Regions from separate parts of the Homo sapiens genome. Here all the other regions are linked to region 2. The links are contacts of gene promoters, found by promoter capture Hi-C in blood cells and fetal thymus (Javierre and others, 2016). All regions are on one chromosome and are shown on one strand. Each heading gives the region's core, a stretch centred on a gene start or on the middle of the fragment in contact. The rest is flanking DNA. Distances are from core to core; before and after follow the strand shown. Region 1 has its middle 270 kb from the start of LINC01956. Region 2 holds the start of LINC01956 (long intergenic non-protein coding RNA 1956). Region 3 has its middle 150 kb from the start of THORLNC.

Region 1 (3,813 bases), core at 197-2,696, 270 kb before region 2:
TGACGTGGTGTCCAGACTTCCTCCTGGACACGTGTCGAGAATGCCTCTCCGCTTTTACAGGCACTTGTTGAAGGAAAGTGTTACCACAGGTAACAGGAATCCAAACCGGTGTTTTCTTGGCTTTTCGCAAAGGATTTCAGGCCCAGGCTCCTGCCCACTCTCACCATCCTGCAACCCTCCTCATAATCAAATCCATAAGCTTTGTTGCCAATTATTGGCCTCTGCAGCAGAATGATGGGGAAGAAAAGCAAGGACAGGCACTCTCTGGCATGAGGCGGCTGGGGTTTCAGTACTGCCTTCTCTGTGTATCTTCCCAAGGCAGCACCAAATAGAGACAGACAGAACCCCTGACAGCATCACAGCCTCGCTCAGACGCCTGGCCATTCCAGGCATGGAACACACCCCAGAGACCCCTGGGGCCAGAATCTGGTGTACCGCTAGTGGGAGGAGAAAGCCCAGGGGAAGGCCGCATGTTTTGTGGGATTTCAAGAAGACTTTCCAGATAACTAAGGGTTAACCCTTTAAGAACCAAAGCTTGACAACCCCTCCCCTCCGCAGATTCACTCTTTTTGTTAGAAACCTTCCCAGATAGAAAGAATATGCACTCCCAGCTTCCTTCCTTCAGTAGAGCCTACACGTGTCATTTATTTTGATCATAATGGCCCAGGGTCATCACCGGAATATGAATGAGTGCATCTAATTGAACCACTTGAACAATCCTCTCAACACTGGGTCCCTTGGCTCCACGTGTGCTTTTTACTTTTTGTTTTTCTTAAGTCCATTTTTCTCTCAGACTTCAGATTTGATAGCTTGGCTTTTTGAAACAAATATTTGGTGTATCCCCTGCTTTGTTTCTTGGCTAACTCATCTATTCTAACTTGGGAGCCAATTTTTTAACTGTCTTGGATTCCTCTGGATTTCACATGAGCTAAACTCCTGCCAGAGAGGAAGATGGATGTAACTAGATTGTATAAAAATATTTGCTTCTATAGTCAATGATCCCTTTCTTCAAGTACTTTTAAATTCTTATGCCAGCTTCTTAATACTTTTCACCTTTTGCATTTCTACTAGCTTGGTGTCAGACTATCACTTGTGCAGCTGCATAAGTACCTGCCCTAGCTGTTTCTTGCCTGCTACAGGGTTTTCTGCTGCAGGCTATAACATCAATTAGCCGAGCATGTTGGAATTGTACACAAACTAAGAATTAGTAAGGTCTGAGCAAGAACTTGGGTTCATGCCTGTGGCAATGGCTTGGAGGCCTGGTTCCCTGTGCCTGGTCGTAGTCTGCATAGCTGATGTGATACTGGGACTTGCTTTTTAAATATTAGTTAAATCATTGCCACAATACATTTTATCCGTGTTCCTATAATTCCCATGTAATGAAGAAATATCACCTCATCACTAGAAGGGACACAGATCATCTATTCAAAGCCAAGCATGTGACAGAGGAAGAAGGAGGGGCTCAAGGTGAGGATAAATGGCTTGCTAGAAATCTCATAGCTTGCTTGGACAGATCCAGGACTCTCTTATATGTTCTGGCTCTCAGTTGAATCTCTTTACACAACGCCAGTGGTTTAAATCTTCATTCATTCATTCACTCGTCATGTATTTGCCGCAGAAGCCCAATATGTATCAATACAATGGATTAAAAGGGATCTGCTCAGACACTTCTTACCCATGGGGAGTGCCTGAAGCATCTCCAAAGAAACCTGGAGCTTTTAGGACCCAGTCTGAAAACGGATACCCTAGATTCTATGCACTATATAATCCTGCCCAGATTTAGATGAACAAAAATTATATTCTCTATGTTTGGGAAATGGTCAAACTGACCAAAGAGGTCAGGTGGTGTGTCCAAAGCCAAAGAGAATTGATGTCACAAAGCCTGGAATCTGGCCCTGCCTCCCAGCCCTCTATGCTTCTCGTATATTCTCCATTCCTCTCTCCACAGCAGAGAGGGATTCTATATCCCTAAGAGGAGCAAGCCTTTGAAGTGGAGGCACTGGTCTGGAAATGATGAGGCTTCTGGATGAGCCACTGGAGAAAAGCAAGCGGTACCTCTTGCTTTGTTCACATCCTAGTTGGTACCCAGATGCTTGGTATTATTCAGCCCTTGGAGCCTTGCTGGATTCTAAAGAATGACTTAAAGCAACTGACATAGGGTGCCTAAAACTTCAGGCAGTTGTGTTAATGGACATTAAGATAGTCATCCACTCCCAACAGCAAAGCCAAAAAATGTACAGAAGTCAAACAATCTACGAGGTCAGGATCCTCAAAAACTGGATTACCACAATAGCCCCATAGCTTGTCCTCTGCCTCTTCTCCCTGTCTTTCCCAAATAGCCTCTACACTGTCACAAAAGTAAGCTTTCTGGTGGCACATGACTGTAATCCCAGCTACTCGGGAGGTCGAGGCAGGAGAATCACTTGAACCCAGGAGGCAGAGGTTGCAGTGAGCCGAGATTGCACTACTGTACTCCAGCCTGGGTGACAGAGAGATACTCTGTCTCAAAAAAACAAAAATAAGCAAACAAACAAAAAACAAAAGTAAGCTTTCCAATTATATACTCAGAAACCTCCACTAACTCTCTGTTGCTTATAGGGAAATAAACAGCTCCACTCTTCATCAGATATTAGAAGATATATGTAGCTTAAACTCTGAACCTATCCAAATTCATTTCTCAATACCCCTATTTGGGTAGCTGATCCCAAACTCAGCTACAAACATACCTCATGTTGTGTTGGTTGGGACCGTTGAACATTCCGTTTATCTACAGAAGAGTTCTTTCCTTTTGGAGCCAAAGACCCAAATCCTACTGATATTCCGAGTCCCATTGCAAATGCCCATGCTACCGAGAAGCAATCGCTGGATTCTCTAAACCCCTTCATATTTTATTTGTACCTCTCTCTAGGCATTTATCACACTCTATTTTGTATCACTATTATTTATAGATATGTCAAATCTCAACTTTCAGACCATTTTTTTAAAAACTAGGATTCTCCTTTGGTTTATTTTTACATCCTTTGCAGGATTTAGTAGTGCCCTGGTCCCAGTAGATTTACTGTGGCAGAGTAGGAATTGCATGGAACTTTTAATCTCAGAGGCTTGGGTTCAAATTCTGACTCAGCTACCCACTAGTTGCATAACCTTAACCAAGTTGTTCAACCATCCTGAGCCTCAGTTTCCTCATCTGAAGAGAGAGAATAATAATTTCTCCCTTTCAGGAAACTTGGTGAGAACATAGGTAAGATGCCTGGCATAGTTCTTTGCATAAATAAATAAATAAATAAATAAATAAATAAATAAATGGGCTTGTTAATAGGTATTTTTGGAAAAAAGTGAGTAATACAGACAGAATGTGTGAGACAAAGATCCAGCTATATAGGCAGTGACATGTGGGAGTTCTCCTCTGTTGAAATTCACAAAACCTGAAGAATAGTCTTTCTCCCTTCTGACTAAAATAAAACAACATCCTCAGATAGGAGATCTTGGTTGGCTCGGCTGCTACTCCTTCCCGAAGCTGACCCTTCACTTCTTCAAGCTTTGGGGTGGTGCATCTAGTTCCCCCAGTTCTCTGTCTAAACCCCAGGGTGCAGATGCTTAAATATGGCCCCCAGATGGTGCAGAGAAGAAGAGGACAGCATCATCCTTCCCTCCCCAGCCTGCCTGCCTCACCTAACAGGCCCAATGAGAAACAGGCAATTGCAGAGGGTACCGGGAGAGGCTTTTGATCTGCCGGCTGCACAGAAGCCAGCTGAGCCCAGAAGAAGCAGTGTCAGATTTATGGCGGCCCTGAGAAGTACAGATATTAGGTTG
Region 2 (3,690 bases), core at 881-3,380:
CAGGCAGCAGCGACTTCTTCCTGGGGCAAAAGTCGCGCACTACCTGCGGGAACGTCCGCTGCCAGGGCGCCGCCCGGGACCCCAGAGCATACCTGGTTCCCTTCCTGGTGGCCGGTCCTGTTTGGGGCCAAAGTTTGCATGCGATGGGCACAAAGGACTCTGCGCCTCCTTTCCCTAACCCCAAGCCCTGGGCGGTCGGAGAACCCAAGACGGGTTCAATCCCGAAAAGCAAACTTTGTTAACTTCTGGCTGAATTTGGCACGGCGGAGGGGGGAGTGGGCAATAATCCCTCCATTCTCCCCTCCACCAACACCCAGGGTCCCTCACTTACATCGCAGTCCCCAAGTCAACACTCGACTTGTCACTTTGCACCACAATGCGGTCAGCCCTGTGAGGACATGAAGAATGGATATGAAACTCGAGGCCAGATAAGCGTGGAACTAGGTTCAGCCGTCCTCCCTGGGGTACCTACCTCCCTACTCCCGACAGAGCTGTGAGCCTCCGCCTGCTGAGAGGAGGGCACTTGGGCGGACCTGAAGTTAAGAGGCCCGGGGTGAAGGCCAGAGCTCAATCTGCAGGGATAGAAGGCGCGGGAAATCCAGCAAAGGATGGAAGAACAGTCCCTGCCAGGCCGCGGCCTCCTCGCCCCCGCCTGCCCGGCCTCACCCTTCTGGAAGTTCCTCCAGGCCTGGGTGGGGGCCGCCAGGGAAGGCGCAGAGGGAGGGCAAGTTGGCGCCGCTAGTTTTAGAGAAATCCTAAGTAAACAGTGAACCCGAGCAGGAAACCTCAGCTTTGCCTGGGTAAGAGAACTGGCCACACAGCTCCAAGAAAGGAGAGGAGGAGAACAAATCTCTGCGCCCTGAGGATGGTGGCTTTATTGCGGAAAGAGGTGGTGGGGCCGGAGCTGCTCTGCAACTTCCTCTCGCCCCCTCAAAAAAAAAAAAAGTATCCCGCAGCGAGGATTTCAGAAGGGGCTCACCTGGTGCAGGAAAAGTTCAGTTGGCAGCCCTTCGCGAGCAGGTCCTCCCCAGCCCGCACCGAGAAGGCAGGCGCCCGGGCCCTCTGACTCCAGTGGCTCAGAGCCGGCTCAGGACTGGCAGGGCGAGGAGCCGGCGGGCCGAGCCAGCGAGGGTTTGGGCTGCCCGCGGTGTGTGTGCAAGAGCGCGCGCCTCGTGTAACCATTCAGGACCAGTTGAAGCAACACAAATAAAGTCAGGTCTCTTCAGCCTTGCTGTCCACCCCTCCCCCTCTTCCTGGTTTGACCCTGGCCTGGCCGCTCTGAGGCCCAGTTTGCGCAGCCGACATTGCGTGGCTACTCTCATTACCAGGGGAAGGGCGCTCCCCTTTTCCCTGGTAATACTCCGGGAGCCCCTACTCGGAAGCCCAAGAGTCAAAGGGATACAGGGGTGACTGGAGAGCAGCGGGGGACAGCGTGGCCTCACCCAAGGTCAGCGCTGGTCCCCACGTGTCGGCCGGGGGAGGGGAGGGGAGCGGACAGTCGGAGCGTTCGGATGTCCAGTTGAGCCGCGGCGCGGGGCAGCCGGGGGCGCAAAGTTGGAGGCAGGGCTGGGCGACGAGGAGAGAGGGAGGGCCGGGAGCCGAAGGGACGCCCGGGTGCACCCCGCTGCAGAGGCCGAGTCCGAGCGGCCGGAGAAGGCTGGTCGCAGAAGGGCGGCCTCCGGTGCAAAAAACGGAAACCTTGGAGCAGAGGATGAGGAGGAATACGGAGGCGGGGAGCCCACAGAAAAAGATGTTGAGGAAAGAAGAGGAGACCCCGGCCTAAACAAATCGAAACTGTGCAATGAACGTGGCCCGGGAGAACCGGGGGTGAGGGGCGATGGCTGGAGCTGCGGCCCAAGCACAGCTTTCAGACGCTTGCCCGGACCCTGGCGCGGGGAGGCGGCCGGGACTGCCTTTCTGCGCGCGTCCCTGGAGAGCGGGTGGGCAGGACCTGCGCCCCGCGGTGGGCAAGAAGATTTGGGGTTTCGCAGTTCCTGGGGTCGGGGGCGGGGGTGAAGTGCCCTCAGAGACCTCGGCGGAGCCCCAGTTGCGCTCCCATCTCCAGCCCCCACTGGAGAGAGGGGGTCCAGGGCCGTACCCTCCTGCGGCCTGGGCTGCGCTGACCGGAAGTGCCTGTAAGAAGCGCCCTCCGCGGACCGTGCCGGGCGCGGGCAGCTCCAGCCGGGTTGGAGCAAGGCCAAGACGCCCGGATGGGGCGGGCCGTTTCGGCGGACCCAGTCTGGACGCAGGTGCGGGAGGAAAGTGTGAGGGGGGAAACTGCTGATTGTGCGGGGATAGGGGCATCTTAATCTGGGAAAAGATCGGAATCTCTTGGGACGCTAATCTGAGACCCGGGTCGGAGGTGTAGAGTAGGGGTGTGTGAGCAGGAACTCGGACCTGAGTTACAGAGTAAGAGGGAAGAGGGCTGGAGAGGTGCTGAGGCTACTCCTAGTTAAGACTGAAGGAGAGGAGAGGAGGGATAACAGCCCTTCACGCAAATCAGTGCTCCCCCTGCTCCCCCAGGTGCCAAAGTCCAGGACCAATGTGGAGACTTGACACTGCGCTATGCGACTGCGAATCATTCTTCTATTTATAAGTAACTACAGTATAGACTTCAACGTGATTTGGTGAGACCTTAGCAGGATGACCCTGGACCTCACTTTTCTTATCTGTAAGGTGGGGATTATAATAGGCAACACACAGAAATGTATGTTGTTGAAGGAAATAAATTGTGTTAAATGGCTAGCAATGTGCACGGAAGACCCTCAGTGATTAATGATCATGTTAATTTTGAATTTCTGGGAGTGACATCTTCTGAATTGCCTGCACTCTGCTAAATGGACAAGTCCTGTACCTGGAGGTGAAGGGGCGGGGGAAGGGCAAGGAGAGCCCTGCTGTGGTCGTTACTGGGACTCGCTTTTGTTTTCTTCAGGATTCAGTATTGAAATTGGGAGTGTGGAGGCGGCTTCTCCCCAGCTCTCTCCGTCCAGTTTTCCACTGTGTTCTATTTATCAGATGGCAGAGCCGTGGGTCTCGCTGCAGGAAATGGTTGCTGTCAGGGCCCGATTGCTGCTGTCAGGGCCCAAGCCCACTCTTGCAGTAGTCGTGGTTGAATCAGAAATTCTCCTGGGTCCCTTCTGTCTTTGGACTCTCATCTCTCTCACAGGAGGCTCCCGCCCCTCTGCGCTGGTCCTGGAGGCCTGCAGACCAGGTCTTCAGGAGGAGGGGAGGATGCGAGCACCCCAGATGGAGCTTTCTCCGTGCGCTTGTGTGGTGGCAGGGGGCAGAGAGGAATCTAAGTTGTGCCCGGCTTTATACCCCACTCCTCATCAGAGTTGAGGAGGGGGAGGCGAGTACTCACTAGTCTCCTCTACAATCCCCTGCCCCCTCCTGGCACTCCCACCCACCTGCCTGCCAAAGGCAGAGTCACAGGCTGTTGATAAGAATACTCTCTTCAGGATGTGTGTGCATGCACACACACAATACATTTCTGCTTTTCTATTGGGTCACACATACCTAGAGTCTTCCATTACTATAGCCTGAAATCTTCCCAAATGTCCTCAAAACACCCCACCCCCATACCTGTGGGGAGAATTCCAGAGTGGAGGGGCCCACTCCATCTCCAGAGTGGCACCCAGGTGGAGAAGGCTGTATTCGAAGCAAATTCAAGGAGCAAATTTTAATGGCCCA
Region 3 (3,502 bases), core at 674-3,173, 500 kb before region 2:
CAGCTGCTATGTTGTGAGATGCCCTATGGAGTAGCCTATGTGGCAAGTAACCAAAGGAGATCACCAGCTAACAGCTCATGAGAGACGGAGGCCTCTGTCCAACACCCTGCAATGAACTGAATCTATCCAACAACCACAGAAATAAACTTGCAAGTGGGTTTCCCAGGTGAGTCTTCAGCTGAGATCACAGCCCCAGTCAACATTTTGATGGAAGCCTGTAAGAGACCCTGGGACAGAAGCATCCAGCTAAGCCATGCCAGTTTCCTGAGACCTATAAGAAACTGAGATAATAAATGTGTGCTATTTTAAAATGCTATGTTTTGAGGTATTTTATTACACAGTAAAGGATAACTAATGCAGTTAGAATTTGGGTAAGCTAGAATTTGAACTTAAAACTTATGTGACCCTAAACCCATCTTCTTTCTATGCTACCTTCTTTCTATGCCATTCTGAACATTTATCAAACATTTTTTATGTGCTGGCTGTCATGATAGGCACTGGGGATGCAAAGACACAGTTCTCTTGGAGCAAGGAATCTTTATGAGGAGGTAGCATTTGAAATGACTACTTCAAATGTCTTGCCTCAAATGAAGAATGGAACCATGTCTCAAGTAGGTGGAAGATTGTGAGCATGGGTAGAGGAGATGTAATATACTTGGCCTATAATGAATAGAGTAGCTGGGCCAGAGGGAAGGTTCTCATCTGTGGCTTATAAAAAAGGGCTCCAATGCAAACCTCATGTACCTTCAAGATATAGCTAAAAAATGCCAATTTTCTTATGTACATTTATACTAGCATTCTTTTTAATAAAAGTAATGTTATTATATGAAAGATTCTGAAAGATAATATCTCAAGATCTCTGTGAATTAATATGAATTGATTTCCATGGTATATTCTTAAGTGAGTAAAGCAATGTGCAGAATAGTAGTACACCAGCTATTAAATAAGAAACATTGAAAAGATAAACTGGGATGTAGCCCCCTCTAAGAAAAATGCTTATCTTTGGAGCAAGATAGAGGGTAAGAGTGGTGAGGAGAGAGATAAGCATTGTTGTATCTTTTAAAATATTTTATATTGACAGATTATAGTTGTGTATATCTATGGGATACAAAGCGATGTTATGATTTTTTTATATGACATGAAATTATTAAATTAAGCTAATTAATCTATTCATTACCTCAAGTATTTGACTTTTTGTGATAAGAACATTTGAGATGTATTCTCTTAGCAATATTGAAATGTACAGTACTCAATTATTAGCTATATTCAAAATGCTGTGCAATAGATCTCAAAAAAATTTCAAACTGATTCCTCCTAACTGAAGCTTTGTGCCCTCTGATTATCATCTCCCCACTACCCTATCTCCCAGCCTCTGTAGCTACCATTCTTTTCTCTGCTTCTATAAGTTCAGTTGTTTTAGATTCCATATACAAGCAAGAACATGTGACATTTATCTTTCTGTTTTTGGCTTATTTTACTTTGCATAATGTTCTTCAATCCCATTCACGTTGTTGCAAATGTCACAATTTCTTCCTTTTTAAAGAGTGAATAGTATTCCATTGTGTATACATACCACATTTTCTTTATCAATTCATCCATTGATGGACACATAAGTTGATTCCATAAATTGGCTATCATGAACAGTGCTGCATGAACATGGGTGTGCAGATGTCTCTCTCTCTGTTTTTTTTTTCTTTATTTTTATTTTTTTGAGATGGAGTTTCGCTCTTGTCACCCAGGCTGGAATTCAATGGCGTGATCTCAGCTCACTGCAACCTCCACCTCCCAGGTTCAAGTGATTCTCCTTGCCTCAGCCTCCTGAGTAGCTGGGATTACAGGCACCTGCCACCATGCCCAGCTAATTTTTGTATTTTTAGTAGAGATGAGGTTTCACCATGTCGGCCAGGCTGGTCTCAAACTTTTGACCTCAGGTGATCCACTCAGCTCAGCCTCCCAAAGTGCGGGGATTACAGGCGTGAGCCATCGTGCTTGGCCTAGATGTCTCTTTAACATATCAATTTTAAATACTTTTTCAAATATTTTCAACCTGAGTACCCAGAATTTGGATTGCTCGATCATATGGCAGTTCTATTTTTAGGTTTTTGAGGAACTTCCATGCAGTTTCCCATAATGGCTACACTAATTTACTTTCCCACCAACAGTTATAAGTTTTCCCTTTTCTTTGCATCCTCAAAAATTCTTACCTTTTTTTTTTTTTGATAATAGCCACTGTAACAGGTATGAGGTGGCATCTCACTGTGGTTTTTATTTGCATTTCTCTAATGATTAGTGATGCTGAGCATTTTTTAATGTGTCTGTTAGTCATTTGTATGTCTTCTTTTGAGAAATGTCTGCTCAAGTCTTTTGCTTTTAATCAGATTATTTGTTTTCCTTCTATAGAGTTGTTTGAGTTTTTTATGTATTTTGGATATTAATCGCTTATCAGATGTAAGGCTTGCAGATATTTTCTCCCAATCCGTAGGTTGTCTCTTCACTCTATTAATTGTTTTCTTTGTTGTGCAGAAGCTTTTTATGTTGATGTAATACCATTTTTCTAGTTTTGCTTTTGTTGCCTGTACTTTAGGGGTCAAACCTAAAAAAAAGTAATTGTTCAGACCTATGTTATATGGTTTTCTCATACATGTTTTCTTATAGTAGAAATACAGTTTCACGTTTTATGTTTAAGCCTTTATTTTGAATTCATTTTTGTATATGGTATGAAACAAAGGTCGATTTCATTTTTTGGCATATGAATATTCAGTTTTCCCAACTCCATTTATTGAAGAGACTGTCCTTTTCCCATTGTATATTTTTGGTACCTTTGTGGAAAATCAATTGAACCCATGGATGCATGGGTTCATTCCTGTGCTTCCTATTCCATGGCACTAGTTGATGTGTCTATTTTTATGCCAGCACCATGCTGCTTTAACTACCATTGCTTTGTGGTATAGCTTGAAATCATGTAGTGTGATGCCCTCAGCTTCGTTCTTTTTGCTCAGGATTGCCTTGATGATTTGGGGATTTTTGTAGTTCCACATGAATTTTAGGATTATTTTTTCTATACCTAAAAAAATAACATTAGGATTTTAATAGGAATTGCACCGAATCTGAGGATCATTTTGGGTAGTATGGACTCTAGCAATATTAATTCTTCCAATTCATGAACACCAGATATTTTTCCATTTATTTGTGTCTTCTTTAATTTCTTTCATGAATGTTTCATAATTTAGAGTGTGCAGGTCTTTTGCCTCCTTGTTTAAATTTATTCATTATTATTTTTTTTTGTAGCTATTGTAAATGGGATTGCCCTCTAGATTTCTATTTTGAAAAGTCTGCTGTTAGTGAAGAGATGCTATTGATTTTTCATGTTGATTTTGTATACTACAACTTTACTGAATTTATTTATCACTTCTAGTAGGTTGTTTTGGTGTATTCTTTAGGGTTTTCTATATAAAAGATCATGTCATCCACAAACAGTGACAGTTTCACTTCTTTCTTTCCT

The links. Contacts are between HindIII fragments. The CHiCAGO score rates a contact against its expected background, and 5 or more counts as called.
Region 1: a contact is called between a fragment that was not itself captured here and the fragment with the promoter of LINC01956 in region 2, in 1 of 17 cell types (endothelial precursors). The highest score is 5.2, in endothelial precursors.
Region 3: a fragment that was not itself captured here is called in contact with the fragment with the promoter of LINC01956 in region 2 in 1 of 17 cell types (endothelial precursors); the score reaches 5.1 in endothelial precursors.

What each region holds. Positions count from the first base shown.
Region 1 is chr2:118,565,117-118,568,929 of GRCh38, forward strand. No RefSeq gene overlaps it. Among named protein-coding and RNA genes, the nearest start is that of LINC01956, 270 kb to the right of the region's middle. The HindIII fragment of the contact is 1,829 bases long and covers 533-2,361 here.
Region 2 is chr2:118,834,016-118,837,705 of GRCh38, forward strand. LINC01956 (long intergenic non-protein coding RNA 1956) reads right to left here and starts at 2,131. Exons shown (of 3, transcript NR_199712.1): 1 at 473-2,131; 2 at 332-388; 3 at 1-117. The HindIII fragment of the contact is 14,254 bases long and covers 1-3,690 here.
Region 3 is chr2:118,334,023-118,337,524 of GRCh38, forward strand. No RefSeq gene overlaps it. Among named protein-coding and RNA genes, the nearest start is that of THORLNC, 150 kb to the left of the region's middle. The HindIII fragment of the contact is 1,202 bases long and covers 1,323-2,524 here.